2 separate regions of the Homo sapiens genome follow, and region 2 is linked to region 1. Evidence: promoter capture Hi-C in human tissues and cell types (Jung and others, 2019). All regions are on one chromosome and are shown on one strand. The core of a region is centred on a gene start or on the middle of the fragment in contact, and the rest is flanking DNA. Distances in the headings are between cores, read along the strand shown.

Region 1 (5,607 bases), core at 1,069-3,568:
CCACTGCACTCCAGTCTGGCGACAGAGCGAGACTCCATCTCAAAAAAAAAAAAAAAAAAAAAAGAAAAAAGAAAAAAAAGAAAAAAAAAAGAAAAATATTTTCATAGCAATGGAATGCAATGGGAAAGAATGTTAAGACCAAAATGTCTGTACCTATTAGACTGTGTGCAAATTAAGGCAGACATGATATCTCTCCCTGGCACATGGTAAGACCCAAATTAATATGTGCTAACTGATCAACTGACTGACTTAAAAGATTCCAGTCAACTAAGAAAGGTTCTACAAATGGTTAGAAAAAAAGGAAAAACCAAACTATCATATATAATATAGAGCTCTCCATTTCTATAGTGAAAAAAACATAATAAACCAGAGAAGAAATATTACTTGTGAATGGAATAACAACTAAAATAATAAATTTTTATTTCTTTACCCTTTACAAAACTCACAGTTCTTTGAAGTGGATGTTCTTATTATCTTACTCCCATTTTAGACACGTGGACATGGAGGCTTAGAGAATCTGATGACTCGTCCAAGATCCCACAGTAAGTAAGGCACCTGGGAACCCAACCTTGTTCTTCTGGTTCCTAATTCTAGTGTTGATGAATTTATTTTTATTGAATGACTCGATACATGCTAGGGTTTTCATTTTCATCTGGGAATTTTAAATAGGAGTTGCTTGACACCATTTTCCTTTTTGTTGTTGTTGTTTAAAAGTTACTCAATTTTTTTTATTACACTTTAAGTTCTAGGGTACATGTGCACAGAAAACCAAACACCATTTTCAAGGTGGAAAAATTCAATAAGCATCTAGAAACGTTCAAGCATCACAGTGCAAATCCCTTCTTATTTTCTTGGACACAACTGGAGTTTTAAATTCCCTGCCAGCAGTAAAACCTGTTTTCCCTTCTTGGTTAAAAAAAGTTTCTGAAGTGGTACACTTTGATGGAGATCCAGGAATCCAAAATTACAGGCAGGAAAACATATTTTTCCTCTAGAAATTTTATGAGTGAAAGAAATTACTGGGGTATGAAGGGGTGAATTGTACATAACTTTTCATTGAATTGTTCAGTTACGATGATAACTTATGGGCAGGGGAGGAAAGGAACCTTGTCAAGCAAGGTGATGACTACTAAAAGGTTAAGTAATTTGGCTGACAAGTGCAGGCAGGGCTAGTTGCCTGTTAAAAGGATCCAAGATCACTTAAAAACCCCACCAGCAAGTTATCTATTTTGTTGCTTCTGGGGAATTGCTTCTTTCCAAGATTCAAAATCTCAGTAGTCATTATTTTTCCATACAAATACACAGACAGAATAATACTCCTAAATTAAATGGTCCTTGTGTGAGTCATCCTGACAGCTAAGAAAATGCCAGTCCAATTTAGAAAACACCTGAAACTCACAGATGGTCCTACTACTACTGCTGCTTGGCAAGAGCTTTGACTGACTCTGGAAAAACCGATTAAGGGAGTAATGAATGAGTAAAATGTAGCCTTCAAAACAGAGGCGCAGGTTGAAAAATTAAGTTCAACAGGTTTAAAGAAGTCTAAACTAGAAGGGTATTCCGACATATTGGTTAAGACAAAATGACCGTACATAAGAAGTCTAAATCGACAGGTATGGAACGTGGGCAGAATATTTCAAGGGATCCACTCCTCACATCTAGTTTTATAGCAACATCTCTAATGACAAGGACCTTGAGAATTCATAGCATGTCTTTTCCCCAAAACTCTATGCCTAACACCAACAAGTTCAACAGTCCAGGCAAGTGGGTGGCTAGTTTTGCTCTGGCAGGATCTAGGTCACTGATGTGCTTTAAGACCTGCCTTGAAAGCACAGAGATTATAACAACTCCTTAGTCCTAACCATGCTGATTTTGAGAGACAAGATAGAATTTTCTGCCACTGTGCTGGGTTCCCCTCTGAAATGGAGGCAAAAATAAGTCCAGATCACTGAGCAACCCTCTTAACATTGTTCCATGATGCAAAACTAAGTAGGTGGTTTAAACCAACTCTTTTCTCTCTTATGGCTGTTTAGCTGTCACTAAAGCTTTTGCCTAAGAAGCCTCCAGGTGCGCATATGTGACATCACACAAACAAACAAACAAAGATACAGAAAAATCTAGGCAGACAATAATAATAACCCAGGATATATGACAGCTGCCTGTTCAAAGTGTCCTACCAAATCTGGGACATCTCCAGTTTGGAGATCATGGCTGGCAGAGACCTGAAGTTTGTTCATGAGTCTTACCTCAAGCAGAGGAAGTGTCCAAAGCTGGAGAGCACCTTCGATTCTCTCTGCCTTTGAAGCTGATGTGTTCTCCACCTTGCGCCTTAAACTCAGCTGCTAAAAAGCCAAGATAATTAAGTCTGACTCATCTCAGTGGTGAATTTTTTTAATGCCTCTTTCAAAATGTGATACATAATTGCTTCACTACAATTACCCAATGGCATGAATGAGCACTACAGTATCTACCTAGATAAACAGACAGTGCCACCTATGCAATAATTATCTTCCTGCAAAACACACACACACACACACACACACACACACACACACCACTTGTGAAATTGTGATGGCTACTTTACCAAAATGATTGAAAACGGTGTTAAACTGCATTGGAAGAGGAAGAATTTTCCTGTCTGGAATCATAAGCTGGTTCCTTCTGGTCAGGGTGCCTGCGGTGGATGGCTCTACTACTGCCCAGAATACCTTTGGGACTTGTGGTGGATCATCAGATTCAGTCTGAAAGCATGAGGCTTGACAATCGGGCTGACCTAGTTACCTTATCACTCAGGGTAGGACCTCAGTTGGCATCTCTCAGTGTCCGTCCGCTCCTTTTCAGAATGTTATTAATGACTTACTGTTCCAGCATTCCTTAAACCTAAGTTGGGTGGGTGGGTTCATCAACTATTATGCAACTTAACATTTTCAGATTCCAAACTCCAGCCCTACTCTCATCTCCAATAAATTCATTTTAGTTAATGTGTTTTATCTATTTTTATTTTTATTTATTTATTTTTTGAGATGGAGTCTCACTCTGTCACCCAGGCTGGAGTGCAGTGGAGCGATCTTGGCTCACTGCAACCTCCGCCCCCTGGGTTCAAACAATTCTCCTGCCTCAGCCTCCCTAGTAGCTGGGATTACAGGAGTGCGCTACCACGCCCAGCTAATTTTTTGTATTTTTAGTACAGACAGGGTTTCGCTGCATTGGCCAGGCTGGTCTCGAACTCCTGACCTCATGTGATTGATCCACCCGTGTTGGCTTCATAAGTGCTGGGATTACAGATGTGAGCCATCATACCCGGCCATTAATGTATTTTAGATGGCCAGGGATTTGATTGTATGAAGTTTTTTTTTTTGTTTTTTGGTTTTTTTTTTTTTGAGACAGTCTCACTGTCACCCAGGCTGGAGTGCAGTGGCATGATCTTGGCTCACTACAACCTCTGCCTCCAGGGTTTAAGCGATTCTTGTGCCTTAGCCCTCTGAGTAGCTGGAATTACAGGTGTGCACCACCAAACTTGGCTAATTTTTGTATTTTTAGTAGTGATGGGGTTTCACCATGTTGGCCAGGCTGGTCTTGAACTCTTGACCTCAAGTGATCCACCTGCCTTGGCCTCCCAAAGTCCTGGGATTACAGGCATGATCCACCGCACCCAGCCTGATTGCATGAAGTTCTTATGGCTTATCTACACTTTTCTGGGTAAGACCCGGTGACCAACTGTCCTGGTTTCCCAAGAATGCAGGATTTTCAGTACTAAAACCAGAACAGTCCTGGGAAAATCAGGATGATAAGTCAGTCTGAAAGGAACCACAGACGCTTTCACTTGGCATTGTCCATACTTCTCACAGCTTCTCAGGGGAGTTATACCTTGGGTTATACTTACTGATTTGAACTGAGTTTCCTTAAGGTAAAGTGGGGATAGAAATAGTAACTTCCTTGATTGGTTCTGGTGAAGAAAAACATAATAACACATGAGAATGCGCTATTAAAACTGTAAACTGCTGTGAAATTCTACTCATTAGCACGTGGCCGTATCAATAATGATACGGTGCAGAGACGCTCTTCATGGGATCATTTATTGTCGGTCATCATAGATGAATTCATTCATTCAATCAACAGATTTACTGAGCACCTACAATGTGCAAAGTCCTCTTCAGCAAAAAAGATGAAATTTTTGTCCACGAGGAGTTTATGTTCTAGTCGATGGAGACAAAATAAATAAGCAAACAATAAAATAAACAAAAATGTATAAATTGTGACATGTACTGTGACGGAACTAAGGGAATGTTGTTGGTAAGGTGGTCTTGTAATAGGTAGAGCAATGCAACTGGGGGAGGTGGGCTTATTTTATCAGGATACCCACGTGGGCGTCTCTGAGGAGGTGATTATTTGCGCTGAGATGTGACCGTTGGAAGCCAGGCAGGCAAAGTGCTGAAAGGAAAAGGTGGAGGGAACTGCAAAGGTGAGCCAGTTTGTCTGAAATGGAGTTGGGGCAGAAGTTATGGTATTCGAGATGTAAATGGTGATGTCAGGTGGGTAGAGTTCAGGGAAGAGGTCAACTGGAAATATGAATGTCTAAGTCATCATCCGAAAGGTGGAGTTAAAGCCACAGAAATGAATGAGATCATTGCAGGCAGCTTCCCACGTGCATGTGCTACTGAAAGTGTGGAAGATGAGTTCAGGCGCTATGCAGAGAAGCTCTTGAAATTGTACTGTGCATTAGAAAAAATACAGAGCTAGACATGGAAGACGAAGGACAACATGGAAGATGAAGGACAACATCAAAAGCACTATATGGAAAAAAAAAATCACAAAACACCTCTACATCTTTCTACCTTTTCCTCACTATTTTCCCCGGGTGGCAACATCAATTTCCTCCCCCGCCCCCTCTCTCCCTGTCCTTCTCCAGGGTCCGAGGTCTCCTCTTTCGTTTCTCTCCTCTCCAGAGCAGCTTCTTGGCTCCATCTTCTTCCCCTGCTCCCACCTTCACTGTCTGGCCCCTGCCCAGCCCATCCCCTGCTCATTCTCAATTCCTTTTCTCTGTTAGAAAGAAACCAACAATCGGCTGGGCGTGGTGGCTCACGCCTGTAATCCCAGCACTTTGGGAGGCCGAGGCGGGCAGATCACGAGGTCAAGAGATCAAGACCATCCTGGCTAACACAGTGAAACCCCGTCTCTACTAAAAACACAAAAAATTAGCCGGGCTTGGTGGTGGGCGCCTGTAGTCCCAGCTACTCAGGAGGCTGAGGCAGGAGAATGGGGTGAACCTGGGAGGCAGAGCTTGCAGTGAGCCAAGATCTCGCCACTGCACTTCAGCCTGGGCAACAGAGCGAGACTCCCTCTCAAAACAAACAAACAAACAAACAAACAAACAACCATAAAATAACAGTATCTTTCCATCTTTCCTGATGCAAATACTTTTTCTTCCTGTTACAAAAGACCTGAAAGTCTAACCACATCTTTGGTGAAAACCCCAGAATCATTGCTGTATATTCCAGGAGTCTGCCACAAGATAGAAGAGGGAGGTTGGCTTGAATGAGAATGGTGAGGAGAGACAGTGCAAGGTGTAGAGATTCGCCTTGCAGTCATGAGGGCTCTCGCCTCCCC
Region 2 (5,607 bases), core at 831-3,330, 650 kb after region 1:
TCTGTAGAACCGTGAGCCAAATAAATCTCTGTTCTCTGTAAATCACCCAGTCTCAGGGAATCCTTTACGGCAATGCAAAGTGAACTAACACGCTTACTCATCCCCTAAGTGTTCAGCATCAAATTTTGTCATTTCACATAAATTATCTCAGATACTGTCCACCACCAAAACTGTCTGACTATTCCCATTTTCTAAGTGGGGACATTGATGCTCAGAGGAGTTAAATAACCTGTTCAAGGCCAGACAATTGCTATTGACATTGCAATGTCTACCCCACACCATCTGCAGGGGTGGGGCCTGATTAATGTGAGCTAGTCACAGAAATCACATCTCCATTTCCAGTGGGAGAATTCAGGCCTAAGCCAATTAGTGCAGAGCATCCTGCCAGCTGTAGGGATTAGTTCAGAAATGAGCGTACGTTTTGAATAAAAAAGGTGCAAGGGGAAATTTTCTGGGGCTTCTGCAGATATTGTCCTCTCTCTCTGGAGAAAGCATCAGCAGGAGCCAGTTTGATCCTCTGACATTGCTGTGTGTGGATATGAGTTCTGGGGATACTGCAGCCACCTCACAAGAAGCTTGTGCGTGACACTGGTGCAGCGGTGGGAATGGCCAGGAGCATCACAGAGACCACTGGATAAAGCCAATCCTGAAGCTTCCTGCTATGTGGGCCAACAGATGTCCTTATTGTTCCAACGGTCTGAGTAAGAATTTCTGCACAGTTCGCACAGCGCGGAATTTGGTTCCAAGTCCAAGTCCAAACTGGGGCTACTCCCCAATCCGTGCCTTCCTACCATGCACGGCTGCAGACTTGGTTCTTCTAGTTGTTTACCATCTGGCAGGAGGTTTTTGGCATTCTGTTGTAGTGGCAGATTTGGTCATCAGTCACAATGCCAAGCTGATGGTGGTTTGAGTCATTGCTTTTCTGTTGGCCTATTTCTTTCATAATAAATATGTATCGCTTAGATAATAAAAACAACAAAGGGGAAAATTCCATGTGAGGCAGAGGTAAACAAAAAAGCTCTGCTTTTAGGAGGCTTATATAAAGATCAAGCTGTATGATGTGTGTTGAGCATGCTTTAAAGAATGCCAAACTGGGTGGGGCCCAAGACAGATAAAAGACACTAAGCCTTTTATCATACCACTAGGCACCAGTGACTTTTGAGACCTGGCAATTAATTAGGAGGAGCTGGTTGTAGTTATTATCAAACCTCCCTAATTTCCCCAAGTGAATGGGTGAGGGCTGGGTTGAGGAGAGATGGGGGAGAGGTGGTAAGAATCCTCTGAAGCCCATTTCTGGAACCTTGGTTTCTCAGGATCGCCGCTTCCTTGGTGGATTTCCTTTCTGCTCTCCTCCAAGTGTCCCTTGTGAGACTCTGACTCCGTAGGACTGGCCCCAGCTAACCCTTTGTTGCTAAGGATGTATCATCTTGCTGGGCTTTACCAAGGGCGTTAATAAAACAGCTTCTATGATTATAGCCACACAAAGGTAGGCAAGGAAAAGACCCTAATTTGGAAAGCAGAAACCCACTCTGCAGCTGGAGCCCAACTCCTGACCTTCCCACCCCCAAAGGCATAGGATAAGATTCCTTTCCCCTAGCTGATTGGATTAATTTCAGCCTCACTGACAATTCCCCCCGTCCAGACTCATTTATCTACTGTTGTTTTTAACCTCAAAAAACGTCATGGCAACAAAGATCAGAGGAAAGATCACAGTGTCGAGTCAGAGAGACATATGCATTTGCATCCCACCTCTGCCTCTTGCTAGAACTCTGATTTTGAGAAGGTTGCTTGAGGTCAGCTCCCTCATCTGTAGGGGGTTGTGATGAAATAAATGATGTAATAGAAACCTTATAAATGCATGAAATTACTGAGGAATTTATGTGCTTCTGGAGGAATTATGGGGCGGGGAAGCAAGAGAGATGCCTTTATTTTCTCCCAGGAATGACAGTGGAAAGCAAGGAAGAGTGTTACAACTGAGGGAACAGACAGTGGAAGGCCTGGGGACAAATAAAGTCCAATATAGCTGGAACGTAGAATATGGGAAATAAATGAAGGCTTGAGATCTGAGGGTTCAAAGCCATATAAGGACTTAGCACATTATCCCAAGAGAAGGGAGGAGCCATTGAAGGGTTTTAAGCAAGGGAATAGCTTGACATGTGTTTTTAAAACTTTACTGTGCCTGTGTAGAGAATAGTTTGCAGGGGGTCAAGGCTGGAGCTGGCAGCCCAGTTAGGAGGCTGATGAACTAGTCCAGAGGATGGGTGGTGGCCTGAGCCAGAAAGACAAAAGTGGGATCGAGAAAAGTGGATGGCTGTGCCACTTGCTATGGCTTCAAGGAAGTTACTTAACCTCACTTAAGTTACTTAACCTTCACTGAGTTAAGTCTCACATTTTTCCCCATTGTTTATGGAGGACAGTAATAGTATGTGCATCCTAGAGTTTTTAGGGGATTAAACGAGAGAATGCATATACAGCGCATAGCACAGCATCTGCCACATCGTATGCGCTGGCAAGATGGAAGCGACTATTACCATTGTTAGTAGTGGAAGTCATGTTGGCAAATATCACAGGGCGCATTCGGGGCATGCTGCTTAAATGAATGAAATAAGTGAATAGACAGTGAGTGCCAGAAAAGGCCCTTTTCAAGACTGAAATCTTGTTTAAAAGGTATAAATAGTCCTGGTGAGGAAGGACAGAGAGAGGTAGGAAGGGTTGTTGTGTAAAGAGGTCAATGTGCTCTCTTGGTGAGCTCTTCTGAGAGTTAGGACACAAAGAGAATGTGTCCAAATGGTGAACAGGTGGGGCAAGCAGGCTGGAGTCCTTTTGAAGAGGGTCAGGAAACAAAAGCCTGCAAGCAGCACAGATGTGTGAAAAAGCTATTTTTAGTCTGGTACAAAAAGCCCACAGGAGAAGTACCACCCCTAACCGTAGTCCTCTTTGTCTCTGTCTTCTCTGCCAGGAAAATCAATCATCATGTCAGGAGGGCAGGTGTTAAAATTGGTCAGAGGAAATAAAAATCCAAGAGAAATGAAGATACAGTGAGAGAATGTCATGCTCTATTAAATGCATTCAAGTCTCGTTGCTCAGAGAAATGACATGTTAGGGTTCAACTCAAAATATAAATGTTTTGTTGTTTTTGTAGGTTTTAAAGGAATATATGCTCATTTTAAGACTCAAACTATCAATAGAAACTATTTTAAGCACCAACTATATGGCAGGAAGTAAGTCTAGAGCCTTATGTATATTTACGTCACTTAATTATCTTTTTTTTTTTTTTTTTTTGAGATGGAGTTTCACTCTTGTTGCCCAGGCTGGAGTGCAATGGCATGATCTCAGCTCACCACAACCTCTGCCTCCCAGGTTCAAGCAATTCTTCTGCCTCAGCCTCCTGAGTAGCTGGGATTACAGGCATGTGCCACCACGCCTGGCTAATTTTGTATTTTTAGTAGAGACGGGGTTTCTCCATGTTGGTCAGGCTGGTCTCGAACTCCCGACCTCAGGTGATCCACCCGCCTTGACCTCCCAAAGTGTTGGGATTACAGGCGTGAGCCACTGCACCCAGCCGTCATTTAATTATCACCCAAACTTGTGTGCATATTATCACTTACCCATTCTACAACTAATGAGCCCAAGACCAAGAGAGCTTAAGTGACTTGCCCAGAGTTGCACAGCTTGTTCTATGACCTGCTCATTTGGACAAGTTACTTAATCTCCCTATGCCTCAGTTGGTTCAACTGTTACAGAGGATAAGGACCCAACTGGTTGGGCTGACTTGAGTTTCAAATTCTCTCTCCCAGTAGACTGAAGTGTGCTTAGACATTAGAACCACACTCTCGTTCAAAATCTTCTTTTACAACTTACTAACTTTATGTCTTTGGGCAAGCCATATAGCCGTGTGCCTCAGCTCCTCTTCTGAAAACTAGGGATTTTCTTTTTTTTTTTTTTTGAGACGGAGTCTCGCTCTATCGCCCAGGCTGGAGTGCAGTGTTGCGATCTTGGCTCACTGCAAGCTCCGCCTCCCGGGTTCACGCCATTCTCCTGCCTCAGCCTCCCAAGTAGCTGGGATTACAGACACACAGCACCACGCCCAGCTAATTTTTCTATTTTTTTTTTTTAGTAGAGATGAGGTTTCACTATGTTGGTCAGGCTGGTCTCAAACTCCTGACCTCGTGATCCGCCTGCCTCAGCCTCCCAAAGTGCTGGGATTACAGGCGTGAGCCACCGCGCCCGGCCGAAAACTGGAGATCTTAATAGTGACAATGGGCTGTTGCAAGGATTAAATTAGCTAATAGAGGCTAAATGCTTATAATAGTACCTGCTCTCTCATAGCTAATAGCTGATATTAATATAATTGGTAGCAGTAGTATTTCTATCCTGTCTTGTTAGGACAACATAACTTATCCCAGCAAGGTTCATTAGAAGAAAAAGAACGGACTTCCCAGGGCAGGCAGATCTGTTCTGAGAATTCAAGGAGCTCACACCTGTGAAACACTCAGAATAGTGCCTGGAAAATAGTCATGCTTATGCCCATGTTTAGTTATTATTATCTATAAATTCCACAACACAGCTCTTAACTTCTATTTGCTACTTCTTCACACTGCATTATGCCTAAAAAAACTCATCATCCAGAGACAGATATTGTTGATAGTTTCTTGTGTATCTTCCCTTACTTTTGAAGCAACTGCATAAATGTGTTTCTATGCCAGGTTCACATTTAACTGAGTTAAACATAGTGGGTGTGAACTCTGGCATTGGCAGATAGTGGCTCTGTGGCCTTAGGGAGGTAATTTCACTTGCCTGAATCATAGTTTCCTTATCTGCAAAATGAGGATAATAATCTCATAGAGTGGTAGTGAGGACAAAACATACCATTTTAAGGCACTTAGAACAGAATCTTGTCACATAGGCTTGAAAAAGACTTAGTAATTTAAAACAGATGTTCTATGCAATGGCCAGAGTAATCCTTATAAATCAGATTGTGTTACTTTTCTGCTTAAACTCTGAAATTTTCTTATTGTATTTGGAATTAAATTCATATGCCTTACCTTGGTCTATGTGAAGGGTCTTGGTGTCCTGAAAAATGTTATTTTCATTTGCTACCTAGTTCAGAACTGAGGGAGATATAGATGAATGTTTGGTGTGTGTCGTTTACATCTGTGGGATAGTAGATATTACAAACTAAATTGTGCCTCTCACCCACCCAAATTAACATGTTGAAGTTCTGACCCCCCATTATGACCATATTTGGAAGTAGGGCCTTTAAAGCGCTCAAAAATATTCCAGTTGCAGTCCTAGCATATGCAGACATGAGAAGTGGGGGATATGAATTTTCCTACTAACAATCTCCAAGGCCAGGCCGGGCACAGTGGCTCACGGCTGTAATCCCAGCACTTTGGGAGGATGAGGAGGATGGATCACGAGGTCAGGAGTTCAAGACCAGCCTGGCTAAGATGGTGAAACCCATTCTCCATCGCTCCTGCCTGGGCGATAGAGTGAGACTACCTCTCAAAGAAAAAAAAAAAAAAGAATCTACAAGGCCATGAAGGAGAGGCCCTAATTCAATATGACTGGTGTCCCTCTAAAGAAGAGAAGAGGCCAGGCGAGGTG

What was found. The method cuts DNA at HindIII sites, captures the fragments that hold promoters and counts their contacts. A contact is called where the count stands out against the background at its distance.
Region 2: a contact is called between a fragment that was not itself captured here and the fragment with the promoter of BPIFC in region 1, in 1 of the 25 tissues and cell types used here (dorsolateral prefrontal cortex).

The regions. Positions count from the first base shown.
Region 1 is chr22:32,462,128-32,467,734 of GRCh38, forward strand. BPIFC (BPI fold containing family C) reads right to left here and starts at 2,319. Exons shown (of 17, transcript NM_174932.3): 1 at 2,247-2,319. The HindIII fragment of the contact is 9,351 bases long and covers 1-4,790 here.
Region 2 is chr22:33,109,943-33,115,549 of GRCh38, forward strand. LINC01640 (long intergenic non-protein coding RNA 1640) reads left to right here. Exons shown (of 4, transcript NR_134617.1): 3 at 467-701. It also overlaps a transcript of LARGE1 not described here. Among named protein-coding and RNA genes, the nearest start is that of LINC01640, 4.2 kb to the left of the region's middle. RefSeq lists an enhancer at 297-1,496. The HindIII fragment of the contact is 5,583 bases long and covers 1-4,872 here.